7 separate regions of the Homo sapiens genome follow, and all the other regions are linked to region 6. Evidence: promoter capture Hi-C in 16 types of primary human blood cells and fetal thymus (Javierre and others, 2016). All regions are on one chromosome and are shown on one strand. Each heading gives the region's core, a stretch centred on a gene start or on the middle of the fragment in contact. The rest is flanking DNA. Distances are from core to core; before and after follow the strand shown. Region 1 overlaps FBXL5 (F-box and leucine rich repeat protein 5). Region 2 overlaps CPEB2 (cytoplasmic polyadenylation element binding protein 2). Region 3 holds the start of LOC107986186 (a long non-coding RNA gene). Region 4 has its middle 16 kb from the start of PACRGL. Region 5 overlaps PACRGL (parkin coregulated like). Region 6 holds the start of DCAF16 (DDB1 and CUL4 associated factor 16). Region 7 overlaps CPEB2-DT (CPEB2 divergent transcript).

The links. Contacts are between HindIII fragments. The CHiCAGO score rates a contact against its expected background, and 5 or more counts as called.
Region 1: a contact is called between a fragment that was not itself captured here and the fragment with the promoter of DCAF16 in region 6, in 1 of 17 cell types (neutrophils). The highest score is 5.4, in neutrophils.
Region 2: a contact is called between a fragment that was not itself captured here and the fragment with the promoter of DCAF16 in region 6, in 1 of 17 cell types (neutrophils). The highest score is 6.0, in neutrophils.
Region 3: a contact is called between a fragment that was not itself captured here and the fragment with the promoter of DCAF16 in region 6, in 2 of 17 cell types (fetal thymus and naive CD8 T cells). The highest score is 8.1, in fetal thymus.
Region 4: a contact is called between a fragment that was not itself captured here and the fragment with the promoter of DCAF16 in region 6, in 1 of 17 cell types (total B cells). The highest score is 6.3, in total B cells.
Region 5: a contact is called between a fragment that was not itself captured here and the fragment with the promoter of DCAF16 in region 6, in 10 of 17 cell types (total B cells, total CD4 T cells, naive B cells and 7 more). The highest score is 30.6, in total B cells.
Region 7: a contact is called between a fragment that was not itself captured here and the fragment with the promoter of DCAF16 in region 6, in 1 of 17 cell types (non-activated CD4 T cells). The highest score is 5.9, in non-activated CD4 T cells.

What each region holds. Positions count from the first base shown.
Region 1 is chr4:15,640,500-15,643,998 of GRCh38, forward strand. FBXL5 (F-box and leucine rich repeat protein 5) reads right to left here. Exons shown (of 11, transcript NM_012161.4): 3 at 289-384. It also overlaps a transcript of FAM200B not described here. Among named protein-coding and RNA genes, the nearest start is that of FBXL5, 13 kb to the right of the region's middle. The HindIII fragment of the contact is 2,309 bases long and covers 550-2,858 here.
Region 2 is chr4:15,014,329-15,017,984 of GRCh38, forward strand. CPEB2 (cytoplasmic polyadenylation element binding protein 2) reads left to right here. Exons shown (of 12, transcript NM_001177382.2): 4 at 2,860-2,950. C1QTNF7-AS1 (C1QTNF7 antisense RNA 1) reads right to left here. Exons shown (of 6, transcript NR_125911.1): 3 at 3,474-3,553. Among named protein-coding and RNA genes, the nearest start is that of CPEB2, 14 kb to the left of the region's middle. The HindIII fragment of the contact is 757 bases long and covers 1,888-2,644 here.
Region 3 is chr4:15,755,086-15,758,791 of GRCh38, forward strand. LOC107986186 (a long non-coding RNA gene) reads right to left here and starts at 1,341. Exons shown (of 2, transcript XR_001741393.2): 1 at 1,239-1,341. It also overlaps a transcript of BST1 not described here. The HindIII fragment of the contact is 1,312 bases long and covers 812-2,123 here.
Region 4 is chr4:20,682,996-20,686,905 of GRCh38, forward strand. No RefSeq gene overlaps it. Among named protein-coding and RNA genes, the nearest start is that of PACRGL, 16 kb to the right of the region's middle. The HindIII fragment of the contact is 8,962 bases long and covers 1-3,910 here.
Region 5 is chr4:20,701,611-20,705,497 of GRCh38, forward strand. PACRGL (parkin coregulated like) reads left to right here. Exons shown (of 9, transcript NM_001258345.3): 2 at 2,856-2,923; 3 at 3,050-3,204. The coding sequence starts at 2,872. Among named protein-coding and RNA genes, the nearest start is that of PACRGL, 3.1 kb to the left of the region's middle. The HindIII fragment of the contact is 483 bases long and covers 1,345-1,827 here.
Region 6 is chr4:17,808,758-17,812,250 of GRCh38, forward strand. It overlaps DCAF16 (DDB1 and CUL4 associated factor 16), which reads right to left and starts at 2,000. Exons shown (of 3, transcript NM_017741.4): 1 at 1,690-2,000. It overlaps NCAPG (non-SMC condensin I complex subunit G), which reads left to right and starts at 2,222. Exons shown (of 21, transcript NM_022346.5): 1 at 2,222-2,431; 2 at 3,464-3,493. The coding sequence starts at 2,321. RefSeq lists enhancers at 1,538-1,627, 1,669-2,180, 1,748-1,907, 2,181-2,693. The HindIII fragment of the contact is 3,530 bases long and covers 1-3,258 here.
Region 7 is chr4:14,994,037-14,997,548 of GRCh38, forward strand. It overlaps CPEB2-DT (CPEB2 divergent transcript), which reads right to left. Exons shown (of 8, transcript NR_038857.1): 4 at 1,218-1,314. Among named protein-coding and RNA genes, the nearest start is that of CPEB2-DT, 6.3 kb to the right of the region's middle. The HindIII fragment of the contact is 924 bases long and covers 935-1,858 here.

The DNA.
Region 1 (3,499 bases), core at 454-2,953, 2.2 Mb before region 6:
AGCATAAGTTATTAATATTTAAGACAGAGCCATTTACAAAAAAGAAAATTAATATTTCCTGAGTAAATTAATTAAATCATCTATTCAATGAAAAGCAACAACCTTTCTGAGAAAACAAAACAAACGTTTTTTTTTTCCCTTGGGTTTTCTTTTTTCCCAAAAAGAACTGCGTTCTTCTCTCCATCAACCAGATACATCTTCCTATGCATTATTTTGAAGAGTCTCTAAAGCAAAATAGTATTTTAAGAATGTTATAAATCTAAATCACGAAAGAAAAATTATGCTTACCTCCTCTTCCTCTTTCATGTGAGGAAGAAAATCTCTTGTAAAAGCCTCCAATCTCTCTTTCAGTTGTTTTGCATAATTTAACTGTTCATATTCATTCTGGAAACCAAAAAAAAAATACATTTTTATAAAAGTTTCGCTTCATTAATTATGTCTGGTCCCAGGAAGTTTAAAATGTGACATAAAACCTCCGGGGAAAAAAAAATAGACAAATTGCAAAGTGGTCTCTGTACTTTTAACATAAAAGATACCCATAAAACAGTAAGCTTTGAATTACTTTAGTAATGTATGTAACCCCATATTTTTAAAATATCATAAAAAGTCTAAAAATAGCACGTATCTGCCCACAGCTTTTATTGATGTATATATAAATTATATACATTTATATAATTTCTACATGTCAGTTCTCTTAATGTATCTCCAAGCCTAATGGACTGTATCATTACAGAATCCCTTTATGGTCATCTAGTGTCTCCTCCACTAAAAAACTCAGAATATAGTTGACCCTTGAACAACACAGGTTTGAACTGTGCGGGTTCACTTAATTACCGATTTTCTTCTGCCTCTCCCACCCCTGCAACAGCAAGACCAACCCCACCTCTTCTTCCTCCTCAGCCTACTCAATGTGAAGACAATGAGGATAAAGACATTTATGATGATCCACTTCCACTTAATAAATAGTGAATAGATTTTTTTCTTCCGTATGATGTTCTTAGTAACATTCTTTTCTCTAGCTTACCTTACTGTAAGAATCCAGTATATATATTTTACATATAATACATGAAATAATTGTTATTCGATTGTTTTATGTTATTGGTAAGGCTTCCAGTCAACAGTAGTAGGCTGTAAGTAAAGTTTTGAGAGATTCAAAAGTTATACGTGGATTTTCAACAGCACAGGGTGTTGGCAACCCTAATCCCCATGTTGTTCAAGGGTCAACTGTACCTGTTAACATTATCCTGCCAGGCACGGTGGCTCATGCCTGTAATCCCACCACTTTGGGACGCAGAGGCAGGCGGATCACCTGAGGTCAGGAGTTCAAGACCAGCCAGCCCAACGCGGCGAAACCCTGTCTCTACTAAAAATACAAAAATCAGCCAGGTGTAATGATGGGCACCTGTAATCCCAGCTACTCGAGAGGCTGAGGCACGGAGAACTGCTTGAACCTGGAAGAAGGAGGTTGCGGTGAGCCGAGATTGCACCACTGCACCTCAGCATGGGTGACAGAGCAAGACTCTGTCTTAAAAAAAAAAAAGAAAAAATTATTTGATGTAAGGTCATATATATCAATATCAACACTTCTAAAGGCAAGGTGCTCACTATATCTTGAAGTAACTCATTCTAATTCTGGGCAATTCTAAGGAGCTATAAACTTCTTCCTCATAACCTAAAATCACATTTCCCCACTTCTATATCAGCCCTCTCAAAGCATGTGGAAAATTTATAAAATAATGAAAACTTTTTTTTTTTTTTTTAAGACAAGCCTTGCTCTGTTGCCCAGGCTGGAATGCAGTGGTGCAATCTTAGCTCACTGCAACCTCAGGTTCATGCGATTCTCCCACCTCAGTCTCCTGAGTAGCTGGGACTACAGGTGCCCATCACAACTCCCAGCTAATTTTTTTGGTATTTTTAGTAGAGATGGGGTTTCACCACATTGGCCAGGCTGGTCTCGAACTCCTGACCTCAAGTGATCTGCCCGCCTCAGCCTCCCAAAATGCTAGAATTACACGGATGAGCCACCATGCCCAGCCTATGAAAACTTTTAAAATATGAAAATATTTTATCTCTGTTAAGTCTTCTCTGGTCTCTTTTTCCAGAACTAATTTATTCAACTGCTTCCCAATATTCAGTCTAATGTCCTGTTCTCTTACGACTTTACACATTTTCCCTAAGCATATCCACATGGCTTCCATTCCTACTTATATGCTAATAATAACTATCAAATTTGCTTTTTCATACTGGGTCACTCTTCTGACCATGAAATCCATCTTTACCACCTCCTATTCATAAATGCCCATCTGGATTACACAAGCAGTTCAAACCTAATCTGTCAAGAATGAATCTTTTTTATTTCCTGACCCTCTTCTATATACTCTAGAAAGTCAGGCTGAATCCTCATTTTTATTTCTTTTCTCTTCTTTCATCCTCCCTTTAAGTATAATCACTACATTCTATCAATTTTATTTCCTACATAATTCTCAAGTCTGATCCCCTCCCCTTTATTTCTACTAGTCATGACTTTAGTTCAGATTTGTCGAAGGTGTATTCATGTGGCAATACATAATATGATACAAAATTCAAAGAATACGAAAGAATATTCAATAAAAAAGTAAATCTCCCTTCTATTAATATTACTATCTAGTACCCTACCCCAACCAAACCTCCCACACCTCCCCACCAAGTAGCTACTAAGTATTCTTCCAGAAACTATTAGAATAATTTTTTAATAATGGTCTTCCTCCTTTAGTCTTTTCTTTATCTTTAATCCATCCTCCCTAAGCTGTAGAACAGCCTTTCCAGAACATAAATCTCCAGGTGAGGAGCACATGGTGGCTTAACAGAGTTGTAACTTAAGCTTACGCTTCACCAAGCCAGAAGGGAAATAAACTAAGATCAAATTTCAAAATCCTATAATATGTAAATGTAATTAAGAAGAAAGTCTCTCTACATCATTATCCTAAACTATACCCAGTAATATCTTTAGCTCACTGCAACCTCCGCCTCCCAGGTTCAAGCAACTCTCCTGCCTCAGCTGGGATTACAGGCGCCTGCCACTATGTCTGGCTAAATTTTTATATTTTTAGTAAAGACAGGTTTTCACTATGTTGGCCAGGCTGGTCTAGAACTCCTGACCTCAAGTGATCCACTAGCCTCGGCCTCCCAGAGTGCTGGGACTACAGATGTGAGCCACTGCACACTGCACCTGGCTGGTATTCAATTCTAAAACAAGTAAAAATTTATAAAATTAAAGTGTTTATTCATTCTAAGTAATAATTATACCTTTGGTCACCATTAACTGGATAGCTTTCCTTTAAGAATTCAGCAAATGTTAACAGAATGTAAAAATTTTATAATTAAAACTTCGACTTACAAAAACAGCTTTCAGACTTGGTGAGTAGCATTCATTATAAAATTTTATTAAACAGTAATAAAGAGGTAACTGATGAAGACTCTCACCAAACCTGAGTCAGGCTCCTCTGGGCCCTCTTCTCAA
Region 2 (3,656 bases), core at 1,016-3,515, 2.8 Mb before region 6:
ATTTTAAAGTATTTACAGTATACTCTTAGAACCTTCATGATATGGCACACCTGCAGAGGGATTTTTTGCTTAATTATATGAACATTAACTTTTATCATTACAGCTTACATTTTATAATTCTATTTTAAATACATCTGGGAACTTTCAGTATTGTGGTACTTAATCTTCCATTGGGTGGTTGGAAATTCAGGTTCATAGCAAGCCACGTTAATCTGATGCTTGTCTCAGTTTAGTCAATTAACATTTGACTACCTGTTCCGTTGAGGATTCTGAGAAAGTTTTATAGTCCTTTACCATTACTATTTAAAAAGTACAGTCTTTCTCCTTACAGAACTCGACTTTTTTTTTACATTTTTTATTGAGTTTTTATGGTAGAGATAAAGAAGTATTCATTCAACAGACATGAGAACTAACTATATTCTGTAATTAGATAGTCCCTATTCTTAATCAACTTAGAAGTTTAGTGGGACAGACAGGAAAATCAACAAATTAGTTATGAACACAGTATAGTGGAAGCACAGGGAAGATGGAAATATCTGGATAGATTCCTAAAATTAATATGTCATTTTTGCCCATATGGGCCATCCTATTCTCTGTTTCAGTTTTATTAATATTTCATTTATTTTAGAGTATTTTGAGTCTTTTTCTTTTCTAGAATTTTTAAAGAGACTATAGGCATCATCTAGTCTGACATGATTATTTTCTAGGAGTTAGAACCAGAGCCTAGAGAGATTTAGTGACTTCAGACGAAGAAACTAATTGCTTCTTATAAAGTGTGATATCCAGACCAGCAGAATCAGTATCACCTGGGAACTTGTTAGAAATACATACTCTCAGGTTCCACTCCAGACCTACTGAATTTGATGTGTTTCAGCAGTCTGTGTGTTTAACCAGCCTTCCAGATGATTCTGAAGCATGTTCAAGTTTAGGAACCACTGTTACAGCTCATTGATTCTTTGTGCCTCCATCACTAATCAAGGTCACTGTTCTAGAGAGCAGCTGTTATTGATGCATGTGTTTTACCTCAGGGGCCTTTCAGTAAAAATCAGTAAAGAGTACTGATAGAGTTAATTGGTGATAAAGCTGGAATAAGAGCCTCCAGTCTAGCATTCCTTCCGTCATTCAGTGTTACTTTTTACCTTTTTAAATCCCTGACAGCAACTTAGTCTACAGTACTGATTCTGAACCCCTAGCTTTAAAAAGGCTACAACCCTAATTTAAACATCAAAGTAAAGTAAATAAATGAACATATTCTTAGAAAAGCTTTTTAGGTTTTTCTTCAGCTTTCTAAAGAACTGATTCTGAATCTTCTCTGGATTGTGGACTCCTGTGGAAAACTGATGAAAGCTATAAACCTTTTCTTCGGGAAAAAAAGAAATTATGTACACACTAGTCCCCCCTTATCCATGAGTGATACGTTCCAAGACAATCAGTGGATGGCTGAAACTGCAAATAGTGCCTTCATATGCTGTTTTTTTCCAATGAAGACATATGATAAGGTTTAATTCATAAATTAGGCACAGTAAGTGATTAACAACAATAATAGTAAAGTAGGACAATTATAACAATGTAATAAAAATTATGTAAATGTGGCATCTCTGTCTCTCAGAATATCTTATTGTATTGTCCTACAGATAACTGAAATCGTGGAAGGCAAAATGCAGAAAGGGGGGACTACTGTACACCTATGAACAGTATATTACATATAATCTCAGAGACTTCTGGTCTCTCTTGAAGCTAATGGACCCAGGTTAATAAGTGCCTTATTTTGATTTCTATGGGGGCTTTTATTTCCACTTAATTTTCAGATTCTTCCTTTCCATTTTCTGTGACAGTCATTTTTTGAGAGTTTAGAATGGACTATCCTGTATCCCCCACGTATACATAAGCTTACACATGCGTGTATACACATATGTAACTGGGTGGGTGAGTATTTTGGGAAGACTCCTAGATTATTTGGAGGGCATGGGCCAGAGCTTCCTCTAGTAGTTCACCACATACCTTTTTTCAGGTACACTGAGTATGTATTGAACAGAATACAGTAGAAATTTATGGACATTAAAGAGTCAGATTCTTTCAAATAAGCAAGTGAAGGGATTGAACATTCAGCAAAGAAGATTCTGATAACAAGACTTTGGAGACTTGGTGAAGTAGCAGACTTAATGAGATTACTGTGCTTTTACTCTTCTCTCCTCCACCTGCCTATTTTGCAGGGGAGTTGGGGGAGGCCGGCTTAAAAATGCAGAGACAAATATGGAAGCACTTTAGAGAGTAATATATGAATCTGAATATTCTAGGCATTAGTCCCTGTTCTGGTTATTAGTATCTTATGCTTTTGATTTTTACCGTATAAGATGTTTATGCACTCATTATTAAATTCAGACTACTATGTCAGATAACAAAATGTTTGATAGATGTTTAAAGTATGGTGCAATTATGGAACTAAAATATTTCCTCCCAAATATTTATTTTCTATGTGCCACTATCTGTCTTCCTAAATATGTGAGAAAAGTTTTGAAATTAACCAAAAAATGCTTTCTGTGTGTATAAGATTTCAGGAAACTTTATAGAGAAAAGTAACTATAGAAATTATTTTACTGTTTTGCATTAGTATTGCCAGTAAAATTAGATTACTTTTGATAAAAGCTTTAAGAGATAAATATACTGAAAATAATGTCCTCCAATGCAAGGAACATTGTAGTTCATGAGATCTTTAGTTATTGGTATTTTTGTGGGATACAGATTAATTAGTAATAATCAGAAGTCCTATTTTATGTAAGAGAATTTAGATAGTGTTTTATAATCGCTTTTTGAAAAAACTGCATAGATTATAATGTCTTTTTTCCTCTTCTCTTCCAGGATCGAAGTAGAATGTATGACAGTTTGAATATGCACTCTTTGGAAAATTCCCTTATCGATATTATGAGAGCAGAGCATGATCCTCTTAAGGGTAGGTGACTTTTTAAAAAAATATATGTTTATATTATACACCAATTTGCTTATCTTACTAGTTTTTATATGAAAGTGAAACCTAAGTAGCACCTATATCCAATATAAAACTCTCTTACACATTTATTAATGAGAATCTTTGTTTTTATGAAATGCCATATTTTTCCTTTGTTGCTTAATGTGAACTCACCTCCCTTGACTTACAATTTAAGGAAAATTTACTATTTAGAGACATGCTTCAGTTCACCAGAGAATGAAGGATGGATCTAAAAGTATACACTAGTCACTTTTCTAGAATTCTTTCAAGTACAAAAATACTAAAAATATTTCTTGGAATACTTGTATTCACAATTTGCAGTGATTCCAGCCTAGAATTATCCCTAGTTAACCTCCTTTCTCTATTTTTCTTCTACTGTCATAGGGTTTTGAAAGGGGGGGGAGTATTTTATAGTAGCTTCTCTGAGGTGAAAAATAGCTTTTCATAGAAGTTGAGACAAATTAGGGAAAAGAACCGGCCCACTTACCCTATAGTAGCAGTCTTCACTAATTGTTTGTAGTATTTGAAGAAATTTCATTAGCATACTTGTTTTTGTCTGTACATATTCTGTGTATAAAATGAAAAAAAGCAATTATTATATATTTTTATACAATATATCACATTGTCATTTATATCAGTGGTGAAAATCTACCAAATTGTCTATTTGAGT
Region 3 (3,706 bases), core at 218-2,717, 2.1 Mb before region 6:
CCCACCCCGTTAGGAACATCATTTAGGTTGTTTGCAATCAGTTTCTCTTTTTTTTATTTTTTTATTTTTTTGAGATGGAGTCTCACTCTGTCGCCCAGGCTGGAGTGCAGTAGTGCAATCTCAGCTCACTGCAACCTCCGCCTCCCAGGTTCAAGTGATTCTCCTGCCTCGGCCTCTTCAGTAGCTGGGATTACAGGTGTGCACCACCACGCCTGGCTAATTTTTGTATTTTTAGTAGAGATGGGGTTTCACCATGTTTGTCTGGCTGGTCTTGAACTCCTGACCTCTTGATCCGCCCGCCTTGGCCTCCCAAAGTTCTGGGATTACAGGCATGAGCCACCGTGCCTGGCGCCAGTTTCTCTTATAAACAATGCTGCAATGACTAATCTGGTATATTTATTATCTTTCATGTGGGCAGAGATATTTGTAGGTTGAATTCCTAGAAATGGGGTCAGTGAGTCAAAGAGTAAATGCATTTGCAATATTAATGTATTCATTCTTCACTGGATCTCTGTAGTTTAGCAATGAATTGAACAACTGCATATTATTTATGGGTGAAAAGCCCCAAAGAAAAAAGAAATGCTGAGTCCAGATGTCACCTTCAGTCAATGTAGAGTGGTGGTTACCACCAGTGATGAAGGTCTTAGAGTGTTTATGCATCTGTGAGTGTGTGAGTGTGTGCTCATTTGTGTACTCTGAAAACCCTATTTGAAAAAAAAAACTTAACCATTGGGTTATTAGACAGATAATCACTTCACTCCAATTTCAAATCAATGAGTTTCTTATTCCAGCTTATATTCCAATAGTCCAAAGCTTCCAGGGAATAAAGGTAAAACAATCTGAGAGCTCTGAGTTCCTCCACAGGGCAAGTACCATGTAAACTGATAGATGATGTTAAGGTTCTCAAGGTGGTGACTAAACAGTTCTCCCAGTCTCTGCAACATAAACATAAACTTAAAAATTACACTGTAAGCTAGATCTTCATTTTGAAAATAACCATGGAATTTGAAAAAATAAAACTGAAACAAACAAAACACACCACCATGAACAACAAAAACAACAACAAAACAAGGGGGAAAAACCGACTTTCTGGTGTTTTTGCTAAAAGACTGCAGGGTGGGTTGGGGGAAGCTCTTCTCATAAAAGAAAAGTACTAGACAATCTGGTCTTTTAAAGGGTCTTGAAAACAGATTATGCAGTAAAACTGAGCTGTCAAAGACCCTCAGAGATGGTCGTACCTGGCTAGTCCTATGAAGCGCCCAGCTAGAGGAGAGTTTTCTTTCTCATTTTCAATCGTGGTTTGTGGTTAAAGATGTGCATGCCAATGGCAGGTCTGGGGGTGAGATGTGTTTGAAAAAACGTTGAATTTATATTTGCAGTACCAGCCAGACTCAGGAAGTGACACTCAACCACATTTTCCTGACCTGGGTGGAGATTAGTTGAGAGTGTGTTTGATAGGTTAACACATGTTGAGAAACATTTTGACATAGGACGTGTTGCATATAACTAGTTTTATGAAGATGATGTCCTTAATGGGTATATCTTCTATGAATGACTCAGGTCATCATCATAGACTTGGGTTATTGTAACATCTAGCAGGTATGTTGCGCTGTGGAGAGCTGTTTTTCCCCCTAGCGGCCTCGGAGGGTGAGGTTTGGAGTGCTATTCACATTTTTCTGTGCACTGGCTGTGCAATGGCCAGCCATATCTCTTTCCAAGATGCTCATTTGTTGGGGCTCAGGATGCACCACCTCAAAACATACTGTGGGAGACAAGATGTGCCACCCCAAAATACACTTCCTGGCATATTTCAAGCTGGTTATTCAGATACACTGCAGACGCAGGAGTATCTCTGAAAAGCTGCCCTTTGTAAAAGAAATGTATGCCTATTGTAAATTGAAAGTTAAGTTTCTTGTAAAAGAAATCTATATTAGTAAAACCATCTGTATCAGGAAGAGGGCTGTTCCTAGACAATTTTTATTACCTGAGATACTTTATTTGCATAACAAGACAAACTTTTATTCACCTTATATTTCCTCCCTCCCCTTCTCATAGCTTGTCTCTACCACCCTCAGAAGCCCCAAGCTCCTCCTATTCCTTTCTGTAGCTCAGGCTGCTATATAAGCTTCAATCATCTGGTCTTTCTTCAACTCTCATATTTTCGCGGGACCCCTGTGCCAACGTGTGTAGTTAAACATAGCTTTTTTTCTTGCTAATCTGTTGTGTGCTGATTTAATTCACAGCCATGCCAAAGAACCCAGGAGGGTGGAGGTAGACCATTTGGTTCTCCCTGCACGAACTGCAGTGTATTTTTTTGGGCCCAAGGTCAAATACCAGCTCCACTGTCCTAGTCCTGTGACCTTGGCTGAACAGAATAATGATCCTCCTGTCTATAAAGAGGACAAAAGCACACCCCCACCCCGCCCCGCAGACTGTTCTGAACAGTGGTCCCCTGTTAAAGAAAACTTCTCCTCAACTTCACTCCCTCTTCACCATTTCTTTCCATTAATATTACAGAGAATCCTTTATAGGGAATTTCTTTTAAAAATTTTATTTATTTATTTATTTATTTAGAGAAAGAGTTTTGCTCTTGTTGCCCAGGCTGGAGTGCAATGGCAGGATCTCGGCTCTCTGCAACCTCCATCTCCTGGGTTCGAGTGATTCTCCTGCCTCAACCTCCCAAGTAACTTGGACTACAGGCATGCGCCACCACACCTAGCTAATTTTTGTATTTTTAGTAGAGACAGGGTTTCTCCATGTTGATCAGGCTGGTCTTGAACTCCCGACCTCAGGTGATCCGCCCTCCTCGGCCTCCCAAAGTGCTGGGATTACAGGCATGAGCCACCGCGCCCGGTGGGATTTTCTTAAACATTAAATGTCTAATGTTTTAAAAACCCAATAACATCAGCATTTTTAATAACAATTTTTATTGTAAATTGACAATTTATAATTGTGTATATTTCTGGATACAACGTGATGTTATAATTTATAAATACAATGTAGGATAATTAAATTAAGCTAGTTAACATATCCATCATCTCAAATATTTAGCATTTTTTTTCAACTTTTATTTTAGTTTCAGGGGGTACATGGGCAGGTTTGTTACACAGGCAAATTGTGTGTCACTGGGGTTTGGTATACTAATGATCTTATCACCCAGGTAGTGAGCATAGTACCTGACAGCTGGTTTTTCAGCCGTCCCTCCCCTTCCGCCCTGTCTCCTCTAGTAGTCCCCAGCGTCTATTGTTTCCATCTTTATGTCCATGTGCACTCAATATTTAGCTTTCACTTAAACGTGAGAACATGTGGCATTTGATTTTCTGTTCCTGCATCAATACACTTAGGACAATGGCCTCCATTATCCTAAGCTACATCTTTTGCGGCTGTATCCATGTTGCTGCTAAATATGTGGAATACTATGCAGCCATAAAAAAGAATGAAATCATATCCTTAGCATTTTTTTGTCATGAGAACATTTGAAATTTACTCTCTTAGCAATTTTGAAATGTATGATACTGTTTGTTAACTATATTCACCACACTATGCAATAGATTTCAAAGAAACTTCCATATTCCTTCTGAGATTTTTGTACCTTGTTCATCATCTCCCTAACACCCTCACCCTCTAGCCTCTGTAACCACCAGTTTATTCTCTGGTTCTACGAGTTTGATTGTTTTAGATTCTTCATTTAAGTGAGAATATGCAG
Region 4 (3,910 bases), core at 1,355-3,854, 2.9 Mb after region 6:
GGGTGGCTGACCAACTGGGGATGGTATCTCTGAGGAACACGCTAAGACTGCTGCAGAAAGTTTGGAACACATCTGTTTACCGTAACCACCTGCTGAGCTGGCCTGACACCAGCAGGACCAGCAAGCCAACAAAAAGGAAGAAAATGTTCTCAGAAGCTCACCTACCTCCCAGTCTGCTTCCAGCACCCTATTGGCAGAGTTTATTAGGGAGTCAGCAGCATAGGGGAAATGCTGTCTACAGAGACCCAGGACCAGCATTACAAAGTAGAGTGTGAAAGGGAGGGTTGAGACTGAGAAACAGAGCTTCATAACCAGTGCTGGGAGGCTACTCTTTTATATAGGAGGCCCTTCAAGCCTACCCCACCCTGATTGGGAGAATGTCTGGGTCATTTTGCTCTGTGCATGAAAGTGCTTCAGGAGAATCATTCCCCACACCGTGAACTCCTTCATGGTGTGGGGGATATTATTTATCTTATCACAAAATGTGTATTAAGTGAATGAGTGAAATGATACCTTTGATATAATGCTTGTAGCATTAGTGACTTTTTCAGCTTGGGTAATTCTGATTGCTAGTGTGTGTATGTGTGTGTGTGTGTGTATGTGTGTGTGTGTGTACTTGTTCGACATTCAATCTGATTTTAATAAATATTAACTAGGTGCCCACTAAGTGCAGAGCTCTGCATCAGATGCTACATGAGACCTAAAAGAATTAAACCTTGTCCCTAAAGGACTTAGAATATCGATTCCTGTGTGTGCCATCTGGTGCATATCACTATTTTAAAAAGGTTTTTTTTTTTAATTTCTTGAGGTCTTTTGAATCCTATTCTTCTCTGTTTTTAAAGATATTAGCGATGCACGTCTCCTCCTACCCCACTTTAGTCCCCAGCTTTATCTCTTTTATGAACAAAATTAAATAGATTTCCTCCCAGAAGGAATCCTTTGGTAGAAATTGTATAAAGAGAGAAATTAACTCTTTCAGACTCCCAGGGTGCTATTGCTAAATGTTCTATAAAACTCCTTCCTCATTACTACCTGGAGAGAGACTTGGCATCCGGAAAATAGCATCCAATATGTATTCACTTATTTTCCTCCTTGTTATGTGATGGGGGAACATGAGTGCAACACACTGAAGATAAAGAAGGCTAAGGGATGCTTGTTCATAAATAAGAATAAGATAAGGGTATAGGCTGGGGGATTTTAGTCTCCCAACACACTTTGAAGGTTTGGCTCCTTAGATAGCCCGAGCATGGATTCCTGCCTTCTGCTCCTGCAGAAGGTGAAGGGGGTGGAGGCTGCTGTGACTAGGGCTATGACACTAACTTTGGCTGTTAATGGTGGCCTTCCTTAGCCTATCTCCAAGAATACGGATGCTAGTACAAGTCATGTGCTGTTAACCAAGTATTTTGCCCCTTTCCTTCTGAAGTGGCACTCTATTAAACAGTAATATTTTCTTCCCTTGTTGCTTAAAATAAATGTTTTTAAGGCCTATGAATACTTTGGTCAACATTAGTGGTTTTTCATACTTCCTTCTCTAGGTTTTTAGGGAGAAATGCCTACACTGTTCTTTGAATTGCTTCGTTATTATTATTCCCCAGATTTTCTCCATGTATTAAAGATCCTAAGAATTCTAAGCTCAGACTTTTGCCTCTGTAAATATATTTTTTAAATGGCTGCATAATATTACCCATGGACATGATTCCTAGCCATAGCTCTACTTTGCAGTCAGTCCATCCCCAAAAGACCATCATAGACCACACACTGAATGTTCTACATAGGTTGGGAAAATCTAATGTTAAATATAATACAAAGAGACAACCAGTGATAAAGTTTAAATCCTGAGTCTCCAAGCACATTTTCTTCGAGGGATTCCTTTTTCTTTAGTTTGAGGTAAAAGACTCCAGCAGAAACAACCTCTCTTGACATCCACAAGCCCTTCTAGTAGTGCTCCTGGGTGTGGGTGTCATGAAAATGCAGAGGGTCTCTTACATGTGGTCAAAAACGTTTCAAAGCAGCTCAGCAGATGTATTAGGCTGTAGTCATTCTCCTCTGCTTAGCATTTGGTCAAGATAAGCATTTCCAGTCAATGCTGATTGCATTTAGCCTGACCATGTTTTTGTACGTTTCAATGCTGATCCTATTTTCTCCTTTTAATCGTACAAATATATAACAATAAAGAAAATAATTTTGCTAGCAGTTGAATTACAAAATGTGTTCAACACTCCATTAATAAAATCTCTATCTTGTTCAACATCTCCAGTAAATAGCCTTTATATATTTCCTCTTTTCTATTTGCCAGCTGACAATAGAAAACATTAGCTGAGAGTTGAATGCGGGAAAGCAAAATAAGAGATAGTTATCCACTGCCATCTAGTGGCTAAAAACTTAAAATTCAACCAAAGTTTTTGGATCTTTTTCTTCTAAAATAGTGGAAAAATAAATATTGGAGCATATTTGCACATTTTAAAGGTCTTAATTCTTTTAAATTTTTGAATAAGAATCTGAACAGATAATAAACACATTAAAATTAAGTTTATTTTAACTCCATTACTCACATCTCAACAATAAGACAGGTAAGGTAGTTCATGTGGAGCAAAAAATGAAAGCAAGAATTGACAAGTATTGGGTTATCTTCCCAGGGAAGACAGCTAATGAGGAAGGTTTTACCCTAGCTTAGACCTTAATCAGAAAATTATAGATATCACTGAAGGAGCCAACTCGTTAATTTACCTTCATTGTGCTGTTTGGAGCTATCTTATTCCCAGCACTAATCTCTTTCTTTAAACCAACGTGGGGGCCAAAGACCAAAGTCAGCCAATGCCTCTTAGCAGAAAACAAGTATTTTAGAGATTCTAGCATTGAAAGTTAGAGTTTGGGAACACAGATTAACCTTTTTACAGAGTTTTGATATTGCTATTCAAGGCTGCCCTACTGGACAACTAGAATTTACCCCAAATACGGAGAAATCAAGTGTACTATTCTCTAGAGAAACAGAACCAATTGTGTGTGTGTGTGTGGGTGTGTGTGTGTGTATGTGTGTGTGTGTATGAGAGAGATATTTAAGAAATTGGCTCGTGTTTATGGAGGGTGCCATGTCCAAAATTTGCAGAGCAGAGCCTCAGAGCCAATGCTGCAGTTCAAGTCTGAACGCTGTCAGCAGCAGATTTCTCTCTTGCTTCAGGGAAGGTCATTCGTTTGTTCTATTCAGCCTTCAACTGACTGGGTGAAGATTACCCACCTTATGGAGGGCAATCTGCTTTACTCAAAGTCTACTGATGTAAATGTAAGTCCCACACCAAAGCAGCCTCACAAAAACATCCAGAATAATGATTAACCAAGTATCTAGGCACCATGGCCCAGCCAAGTTGACACATAAAATTAACCATCACACCAGGTGAAATGTACAAAGTGTGAAATGAAAGATTTGGGAGAATTTTTGAAAAGTTTCAAAATGTGCTTTATCATTCACCTGAATAAAATGATTGCTTTATGTCAGAGGTTCTAAACAGCACCTCTCTTTACCACTGACACTTCAAACACCATCAGAGGTACTTGATCATATGACCCAAGTGGTACAGCAGCTTGGACAGCAGTCTGGAGCTGTTGTAGAGCCTTCTCTTGCTCTGGGCCCCACTCAAAACTAGTAGCTTTTAGGGTCTCTCGGTAAATGGGCTATGATAACGCACCCAAGTGTCAAGTATGTTTTCTCCAACATCCAAAGAGGCCTACTAGGTGTTGTATCTCTTTTTTTGGTTGTAAGAGAGGACAGATGCAATGTGTCTTCACCTATCTCAACATGCCCTACACCACTGGATCCCTAGAAATTTGACTGCGGTGGAGGTACTTCAATTCTGGTCAGATTTATTTTCCACATTCTGACATGTAAATGTCTTCTCAATAAATATAGAGTAGT
Region 5 (3,887 bases), core at 336-2,835, 2.9 Mb after region 6:
TAAAGCTTGCTTTCACAAACAACTCATGCTCCAGGCTTGTCAGTGGCATGCTTCCAGGTGGATATTATTTTAAAAAATTGACTACATTTCCCGTCGTCCCTTGGTGTCCGTGGAGAATTGGCTCCAGGACTCCCTCCCTCCCCCCAGTCTCTTTCAGATACCCAAATCCACCCATGCCAAAGTCCTCCAGTCTGCTCTCCGTATCCGTGGTTGGGTCAAATCTATAGATGTGGAACCCGCATATACGGAGAGCCAACTGTAATTTGTCGTTAAGGTAAAGGATAAAAATTTTAAGTGAAAAAGCAATTGTTTTGGAAGGAAATTCTCTAATACAGGATTTTGAAAGGGGATGTAGACGTGTTTGCATTACTGTATGTTTAATGCTGAAAATTATATATTGTACATAAAAGTTGTCCTGTATACTCATAAACTGTAGAAGCTCGATTTTCTACCATGTTTAAAACTTTTTCAAATGAGTTTTGGTGACTTTTTGAACTCATTCAAAATATAATGCAACACCTCCCCATTAGTTTGTTACAGGAACAACTTTTTGACGTGAAGGAAGATAGAAATTTAGCCATAAAATTCCATCCAAAACTTCCACTGAATTGGTAGGTAGTATTGAAAAATGTGCATCATAATTTGATATGGCTGCCTGTGCCCTTGTTATGTTTGTGGGTACGCGTCTTTGCTGTGCATCGCTTTTATCTGTTGCAGCTGTTAACAATTGATGATCAAGAGAAATTGGACCTCAGCTGGTCTTCAAATTGATGTAGCCCAAGATGTTAAGCCAGATTTTTTAAAAATGACAAAACATGTGGTTTCACTATTAGTAATAGTAATACTGAAGAACACTTTGTACCATTGTAAAGAAAATTATAATAATAGCTAAGACTCATGTGGCCCTTACTGCATGCCTCCCATTATGGAAATGTTGTTTTACATATATTCTTACTAGTCTTCATCAACACTTAAAGTAGTTCCTGTAATTATGCCCAATTATAGAGTTGAGGAAACTGATGCATTTTTTTTTTCAATAGAAACTTGTGTTGTTCCCCCTCCAGGAGCTTCTCAAAACAGAAGTCAGGCACAATATTAAATACTTGTTGAATGATCACAGAAGTACAATAGTAGGTTAACATATTTAAAGCTTCTCTCAGCTTATTTTAGACTATTATCTGACAACTTTAATGAGATTTTAATTACCGTAGTATTAGAAAATGGCCCTGGGAATGGAGGTGAAGTGTGATACTGGGAAGTAAGTCATCTGCTGGTAGTGGGATGAGATAAATGAGATCAATGTACTAAATCAAGGAAATTGAAATTATTCAGTGTGCAGAAGCAAGCTTACATTTAGGTTATCTTTACATGGTATCAGACTTTAAGCTGGTACATCATGTTTGAGATATCTGGCTAAATTTTATAACATGGAGCTTTGTCCTCCTTTTGAGGATTTCTAACTTGTTAAGTGGATTAAAAGCATTTCATGTGAGGAATCATTTTAAAAAGTATCAGTGTTTATCCTGAAGAAGAAAAAATGAAGGAGTTAAGAGTTAATGCCATCAAATATTTGAAAAAGTGTCATTTGGAGGTGGAAGAGGACTTTACCTGTGTTGTCCTAAGGGAAGATCTTACACTATACTTGAGAGGCAGTCATTATTAAAGGCATTAAAATGAGACGTGTGCTAATAGAATAACTAGATTGTCGTGGAAGTGAGGGAACAGAGTAATCAAGTAGAAATAAGGACACAGGATAGAAATCAATGCCATAGAAATACACATTTGAGAAACCAAGATGAGGAAAGGCTTCATGGAAGTTGGGAATGAAGCTTGGCCTAAAAATACCAGTAGGCACTTGGGTATATGAGTGTGTGTGTGTGTGTGTGTGTGTGTGTGTGTGTTTGTGTGTGTGTATTTCTTGCTAGAGATACAATTGTAGAAATTGATTGGATTAGCTGGAAACCTTGGGGTATGAACTAGAGTCCTCCATTAGCAGAAAAAAAGCAACTGTGTAAGGGAAAAGTGAACCAGTATTCCCTGGGTGAGTAACTTGAGAGATAATTTCATTTGCACCTCCAGAAAACCTTGACAGGCTTTTATTTCCCTCTTTAAACAGGTCAGGAAGTCGAGGTTTAGGGAGGTTAAATAATCTGCCTAAATTCATAAATTTCATAATTGGTAGAACTGAGATGCAGACCCATATTTGAGCCCAAAGCTCTTTCTTTCTCATCACGTGTAGCATTGAGTGTAGGAAATGAAGGAAAAGGAGACAATGGTGATTCTAAGTTTTTCAGTCTGAGGACCAGAAAACTGGTGGTACCCTGGGTTAACAAGGGGTTCATAATAACTTCAGTGTGACAACCTCAGTTTTAGTTACATTCAGTTTAAGGAGCTTGTGATACATTGGGTAGGAGAGTTCATTATGTCACTGGAAAAGTAGAGCTTGATGTGCACATGTTAACATTTGGAGCTTTGGAAATACAGAGGCCAGAGAAGATGGAGAAGATGACAGGGAATGTACCAACCACTCCTTTCAGAAATCTAGTCTGTGTTTTCTAATGTGGTCAGAGAATTGGAAGTGAGTTTCTAACAGTTTATTTTGACAATTTGAATGGAAAAAAAGTTGACTTTTGTACATCATTTCTTGGAGATGATTATTTTGCTGTTATTGATACTATTGAAGTTGACATAATTTCATGTTTTCTCATTAGTCTTTTCCAGTATTTTGCTCCATATCAACTTTTTTGTGTGTCTTTTACTGTATTGTATACTCTGTTCTGGTTTTGTCTTTTTATTGATAACAAATGCCCCTCCAAACAAATTTTGAAATCAACTTTTTTTTTTTTAAACTGCAGGAGTGAAAGGGAAGCAATGCAGAAATCAGAGGGCTCTGGAGGTACACAGTTGAAAAACAGAGCAACAGGTACAGAGCTTTTGTTTTTAAGTGAAGAGGTCAAGTTTGTTCATGGCACTTTCTGTGCTACAGATGGATGCAGGGTGAACTTTATTGCTTGTACCTGGTTTCTATTGATGTTCTGTTTTTTTCCAGGTAACTATGATCAAAGGACATCATCAAGCACACAGTTAAAACACAGGAATGCAGTTCAGGGAAGCAAATCCTCATTGTCAACCAGTTCTCCAGAGTCTGCAAGAAAACTTCATCCTAGACCAAGTGATAAACTGAACCCTAAAACAATTAATCCGGTAGGTCCAAAACTATTCCTAACTCAGTAGATTTTTTAAAGGCATTTCGCACAGTATTGAACAATGCTGGATGCTGTGTTGAGTTTTGTCCCTTTGCTAGTTTTGAGCTAATAATGAGAGAAGGGCATGTGGTTATTATGATGAAGAACTGAGATAATCAGTCACATGTGGGAGTGAGTATGGAGGTAAGGAGACATAGAAGTTAACCTGTTTGGGATATCGCATTGTAGTGCATAGAAAATTGCACTTTAGCTTTAGATTTTATTTGCAGTGTTGTTTTACTTCCCCATATCAATGAATAAACTGTATTCAGTTGCCACAGAATGCTTTTCGTGCTTCTATAGTTGCATAAAGGTCTCTGACCTTTCCTGTGTTCTGTAAATTAGTTCCACCAGAAATCCTAGTTGTAGTACTAACCTCCTTTGCCCTCTCCTAACAATTTAATGAGATTTAATAAACATGGGATTTATGCAGTAAAAATATTCAGAAGTGAACACACCTGTGCAACAACACCAGGTGTTATTTGCCCCATGCCCAACTTTGGTAGGGTGAGATGTTAGTGATTTCAGCCTTCGAAGGGGATTGTGAGGGTGGCTGAAGCTCCTGACTGACTGTGGTGGTAGGTAGGGGTATGGCAGTTACTTAAGGAAGCAAAGGTATAGTGAGCTCTCCAAGACAGAAGG
Region 6 (3,493 bases), core at 750-3,249:
GTGGCTCACGCCTGTAATCCCAACAGTTTGGGAGGCAAAGGCGGGTGGATCACCTGAGGTCAGGAGTTCGAGACCAGCCTGGCCAACATGGCGAAACCCCGTCTCTATTAAGAATACAAAAGATTAGCCAGGTGTGGTGGTGCATGCCTGTAACCCAGCTACTTGGGAGACTGAGGCGGGAGAATCGCTTCAACCCGGGAGGCAGAGGTTGCAGTGAGCCGAGATCGCGCCATTGCACTCCAGCCTGGGCGACAGAGCAAGACTCTGTCTCAAAATAAAAATAAAAAAATATATATTAGAAACGTCACAAAGCAAAATTATGGGCAACACAAATGTTACCACATTCTTAACTAGCAGCTGAATATCTACAAAGTTTGAGGAATTAAGCAGGAGAATGGATAAGGTATGGCATATTAATACAATGGAGTACTATAGCAACCTGTCTGTGCCGTAGTTTCCTCATCTTAAAAGAAGATCAAAGTTATCCTACAGGGTTTGTGAGCAGTAAACGAAGTAAAGTGCTTAGCATGGTGTCTGGCACATAATAAAGGTTAATTAAGTGCAAGTTACTATTATGAACATATCAATATGAACCACAGCAATATTGATTGAAAAAAGCCAGATGCACATATAATTATTCATTTAACGGTTAAAACATGCAAAATAGTACAATATCCTCATTCAGGGATTTATTCATGTCATTAATATATTAAAATATGTCATTAAGATATAGAAAGCTGCATGGTAAAAGTTAACAGTAAATTCAGAAAATCCATTACTTCTTCGGAGGGCAGGTAATTCAAAAGGAGAAAGATGTACAGGTGGCTTTAGTAATGTTCTATTTCTTCAGCTGGCAGTAGGTTACTGAGGTGTAGGAGAGGGAAAAACGGCTTCCCTCCATCCTCCTAGGTTCTTTGGCTGGGTTACAAATTAACCTGACATAGACATTAACAAGAAAAAAAACCCGTACTTAATTACATACGCAGAGGAGTCCCACCATGGTCAGATGATTGAATATTATACAGCATCCTACGCTACTCAAGAAATGGGGGCTTGCGGCTTTCTGGGGGATGGTGGCCACAAAGTTGTGGAAAGGTGAGGGGAGGAAATATACGGTGAATAAAAGTTGTCTTGGTATGCAGATAAGATCTCCCAGGTAACAAAAATTATCGCAGAGCTGCCCTCTTTCTGATACAGATCCTTTACTGATGTATATTTCCTCTGTAGATGTCAATTTCTTTTACAACAGGACAGATTTTCAGAGCGACTCCTGTGTCTGCATTTTATCAGAATACCAGCTCAAAATATACTCTAGAAGTATATTGTAGGGTGGCATATTTTGGTCTCCTACAGTCCTATTTTTGGATGGTGCATCCTGAGATCCAACAGAAGTTCTGTCTGATATAATTTCATTTAAAATTTAAAAACCTAGTTCCTACTCTTCTTTATTTTAACCACTACCCGAAAGACCTTTCCATTCTCTTGAGTTCTCCCTTAATACACTGTCCTTATGCACACTTGTAAACAGGGCCTACACAGCTGCACATCTAGAAACGGCAGCAGCTAAGTTAGCCCGCACCCCCCTTCGCAACGATCCCCGGACTGCCTGCACGCCCTGTGGAACCTCGCAGTCGGCTTCACCAGGGCAGGGACTAAGGCCTTCAAAAGACAGCATCCGTCTCCACTAACCTCGGGTCGCCCCGCTCAGCGGACCCAGCAGCGTCGTCTCCCTTCTCAGAGGTGGCCGGGCCTCCGGAACGCGCTACGAACTTTCCTTTGTCGCCGTCTCTCGAAGCGGAGCCCTCGTGTGGGGATCCCCCGCCCTTCGGCCACAAGGGAGGTTGTTATCCTCGGCAGATCTCCCGTTCTCACTCTTGGAGGATCGCTTTTTCTTTCTAGCCTCACGCTCAGCCGCACGACCCAGCCAGGCCTAACGCCAGCAGCCCTTCCCCTCCGGTGGCAAGGCCACTCCGCTCAGCTCCCGCGCCGACGCTACTTCCGGCCGAGTCAAGGCCCCTCCCCCTTAGAAACGCCACTTCCCTCCGTGAAAACGGCTGGACAAGGTTGAACCTAGACGCATGCGCCCAAAGCGCGGGGTGCGAGGTGGGTGGACCCATCGCTTCCCGCTCTCTTCTCCCAAAGCGCTTACGGCAGTCTCGCGGGATTTCCCCCTCTCGCGGGAATTATTTGAACGTTCGAGCGGTAAATACTCCCTGGGGCTGTCATAGAAGACTACTCGGAGAGCGCTGCCTCTGGGTTGGCGGGCTGGCAGGCTGTAGCCGAGCGCGGGCAGGACTCGTCCCGGCAGGGTTCCAGAGCCATGGGAGCGGAAAGGAGGCTGCTGTCGATTAAGGAGGCCTTTCGGCTGGCGCAGCAGCCGCACCAGAACCAGGCGAAGCTGGTGGTGGCGCTGAGCCGCACCTACCGCACGGTAAGCGCTCCCGGCCCCGGCCGCCGCCTCTCGCCCGCCCCGGCCCACCCTCCCTCAGGGGCCCTCCGTGGCCCTCGGGCTCGGCGCACCGTGACTCCAGCCTTGTTCACCTTCGCGACTCACTTCATAGGGATCTGAGGTTCGGAGAAGTCAGGGACTTACCCGAGGTCGCCTGGGCCCAGGCCAGAAAGCCTCCGAAGCCTGGGCGTCGTTCACACGGGCCCCGCCTTGGCTTTTCTGAGCCGACACCCCCAGCTTCTGGGCGGCGTGGACCGTTATTCCTTAGTCCGATCGTGAACGTGGAGAGAAACATTTACGACCACCGAGGCGATCAGACATCAAATATTGAACCGCAGAGTGGATCCTGAATGCGGGGGTTCAGTGGTCGTTGCCCCTGGGGTCATCGCTCCCCGCCGAACATCAAATGATTCTACCCTTGTCCTACGGTTACGTTGAATCCAATCACCAAATACCAAATTATTTTTAGGGCCTGGCCATTCTTATTTATGTACATACTATTTGTTTGTTTTGAGTGGAACCTTGAGAAGAATAGAACAATTAATTTGGGGAAGATGAATTATCTTGAGGTCCAAGAAAAATTGTGAGTAAACATCACAGGGCTTTGAGGATATGAGATAGGATGTGCAAGTTATCTCATAAAGAAACTGCTGGTGATAGGAAGGCCTGAATATGAGAAATATAAAAGCCAGTATTGATTTTGGGTTGTTGAAGAAGCGTATTTGTAACGTACTGGTACTAAAGGCTTATTGAGAATCAAAGATATTGAAAAAAATATATCAAAGGAATCTTTTCACTGTCAAAAGTCAAGCTTGTGTACTCCCATTATAGCCTGGAGAGAAATTCATGCAAATTGATTGCCCTTTGGCTGGTTTGGATAATTAAGAGTTTACTAAATAAATATTTTAATTTGTCTGCATTATTATGGCTAGTGCTTTCATCAGTCTTAGGGTGATGTTGGGAATAAAGGATTTTTATCGGTGCAGTTTATGAAGGGTTTCTTTTGTCTTTCAGATGGATGATAAGACAGTTTTTCATGAGGAG
Region 7 (3,512 bases), core at 147-2,646, 2.8 Mb before region 6:
AAATATTGGGAAGGAAAATAACTTTTTTGTCATTGTTATTATGATTATTCATTTTATTTTTTCTCCAGTAAACATAAGGTAACAATGCTACAGTTATCCACAAAATGGCTCATGTCTTTGTAAAGCATGCTTTGGAAACATCTACCTCTTTCCTTCCTTCCATCTCCCTCCTTCCTTTCCTTACCTTGTTTTCTCCTTTTCTTCATCTTTTCTTCTTACAGCATTCATTGGGCAATTACTAATCAACAAATACTTATTGGGCACTTGTGTTCCAGGAATGTGAAAGGCAAGGGAATGCGGAGATACATGAAGGAATTACATTTGAGTAACGTTTCTGCAGTATAATTGACAGAGCATGGTTGACAATTGTTTTTGGAGGGTGAGAGAGATGAAGGAAGAGGATGACTCATGTTTCAGCTTGAGAAACTGGTTGTGTGATGATGACGTCAGCCAAGACAAGAAGCAAAATAGGAGAAGCAGATTTTGGGGAAGATGTTGAATGCAGGTATAGACACATTGAATTGATGTGGCTGAAGGACACCCAGGTCAAACTGTTAAACAGGCAGTTGGAAATATGATTTTGACCATGAGGCTAAAGAGATGGATTTGGAAGACATTAGCATTTAGATGATGTTTGAAAACATGATAATAAATTCATCTAGAAAAAGTAGGTAGAAATATAGAAAAGGACCAGAAACATAAGCCTAAGGAACTCTCACACGTAAAGAATATGTAAGGAGAAAGTGAAGGAGGAAATTATGAAGGAAGGTTTAGAAAAGTAGGAGAACTAGAAGTAATTGAGGATGGTACTACTCTTGAGTGCCACATCAATAAAGCACCTTGAAGTTGGTCAAGGTCAGAATGAATCTTAATTTCTACTTTCTCCTTTTCCAACTCCAAACCAGAGCTAATTAGCTCCCATCTAAAGACTCAAAGCTTTCCCATTCTGTGGGGTTAATTACATTTATGGGCATGGGCTCTGCCACAGAAAGAAACCAGCAGCATGGAAGTAAGGCATCCAGTTGACCTTAACTGCAGTGCCTCCTGAACTGGTTCCATTTCTATGAGATGGGGTCTTGACTCCTCTCTTTGTTCAAGCTCCTGTAATGAACCCCTGTGTTCCTGGAGTCCCAACTCTAGTCTCCTGAGACAGAAGTTTTCCCCCTTGTACTCCAGGGTTATCTATTCCCCAGCGTTATAGTCTTGGGATGACTTACCTGTCTTCATGTACTTATCCTATATCTGACAATGCCTGGAATTATTTTTGGCTAGTTTAAGAATCCTAGGAGCATCTGCATGGTGTTTGGACAGCTCCTGAAAACAAATTAACCATTTATAAACAGACCCTTGTATTACTATTGTATTCTTTTAGCTATCATTTCCTAAAATTGCTATTTATTAATTCAACAACCCCTTTAATAAGTGCATGCAATTCCCAACTCTTGAAAGCCTACTATGTGCAAGGCATCGTTGTAAGTGCTGAGGATACAACAGTGAGCAAAACAGGCATGGACCTTTCCTCATGGGCTTGTGATCTCAGAGAGAGGACAGATAAACAGTTCAAGTACATAGTGGGTCAGATGGAAACACAAACACCTTATGAGGAATAAGAAGGCTGGGAAAGAGTGGCGGCGGGGGGTTGTCATTTTATTACAATGGTGGTCAGGGAAGACATCACTGAAAAATGACTTTTAGCAGAGACGTGAGAGAGACATGAAAAAAAATGATAAAAACATGATTAAGTGAGCCCTGTTGCTACTTAGGAGACAAGTATTCCAGGTGTGGGAATTGCGAGGGCAAAGGCCCTAAGGCTGAATTGGCCTGGGCTGTTACAGAAATAAGCATTCCACTGTAGGGAAGCTTTCAGAGGGGTTAGTGGTGGCAGGAGCGATTCTGAAGAACCTTTTGGTTATTAAAATGTTTTGACTTCTATTCTGAGAAAATGTAAGTATTTAGTCAGAGGAGTTGACATGACCTGTCTTCCACTTCAGAAGTATCATCCTGGCTGCTATGTTGGGAACAGACTGGAGAGGGGCAAGATCAGAAGCTGGAATACGAGTTAGTAGGTGAGAGCAACGATGTAGCCTGGTCCAGGCTGCTTGTGGTGAGAATGGGGTGAAGTGCTTGGATTCTGGATATATAGGCACTCCTCGCTTTATTGTGCTCTGCTATATTGTGCTTCTCAGATAATGGGTTTTTCACAAATTGAAGGTTGGTGGCAACCCTGCATCAAGCAAGTCTATCAGCACAATTTTCCCAACAGCATGGCTCAATTTGTATCTCTGTGTTACATTTTGGTAATTCTTGCGTTACTTAAAGCTTTGTCATTATTATTATATCTATTTTGGGGATCTGTGATCATAATATTTAATGTTACTAGTGTAACTGTTTTGGGACATCACAAACCACAACCATATAAGACAATAATTTAATCAATAAAGGCTTTGGGCTTCCCTATTCCCTGAGACAAAACAATATTGAAATTAGGCCAATTAATAACACTCTAACGACCTCTAAGTATTCAAGTGAAAGGAAGAGGTACATGTCTCTCACTTTAAATGAAAAGCTAGAAATAATTAGGCTTAGTGAGGAAGGTATGTGGAAAGCTGAAATAGGTTGAAAGCTAGGCCTCTTGCACCAAGTAGTTAGTCAAGTTCTGAATGCAAAGGAAAAGTTCTTGAAGGAAATTAAAAGTACTATTCCAGTGAACACGAGTGATAAGAAAGTGAAACAGCTTTATTGCTGATATAGAAAAAGTGTGAATGGTCTGGATAGAGAAAATTAAACCAGCCACAACATTCCCTTAAGCTGAAGCCTACTCCAGAGCAAGGCCCTAACTCTCTTCAATTCTGTGAAGGCTGAGAGAGGTGAGGAAGCTGCAGAAGAAAAAAGTTCAAAGCTCGCAGAGGTCGGTTCGTGTTTAAGGAAAGAAGCTGTCTTCGTAACATAAAAGTGCAAGGTAAAGCAGAAAGTGCTTATGGAGAAGCTGCAGCAAGTTATCTAGAAATCTAGCTAAGATAACTGATGAAGGTGGCTACACTAAATAAGTTTTCACGTAGAAAAAACAGCCTTCTATTGGAAGAAGGTATCATCTAGGACTTTCATAGCTGGAAAAGTCAATGCCTAGCTTCAAGCTTCAAAAGACAGACTCTTTTCTTAAGGGCTAATGTAGCTGGTGACCTTAACTTGAAGCCAATGCTCATTAATCATTCTGAAAATCCTAGGGCCCTTAAGAATCATGCTAAGTCTACTCTGCCTGTGCTTGGTAAATGGAACCACAAAACTTGGAAAGAGCATAGTTTACTGAACATTTTAAGTCCACTGTTGAGATCTACTGCTTAGAAAAGAAGATTGCTTTCAAAATATTACTGCTCATTGACTATATACCTGGTCACCCAAGAGTTCTGATGGAGATGTACAAGAAGATAATTGTTGTTCTCATACCTGCTAACCCAACTTCAATTCTGCAGCCCATGGATTCAGGAGTAATTATGAGTTTCAAGTATTATTAT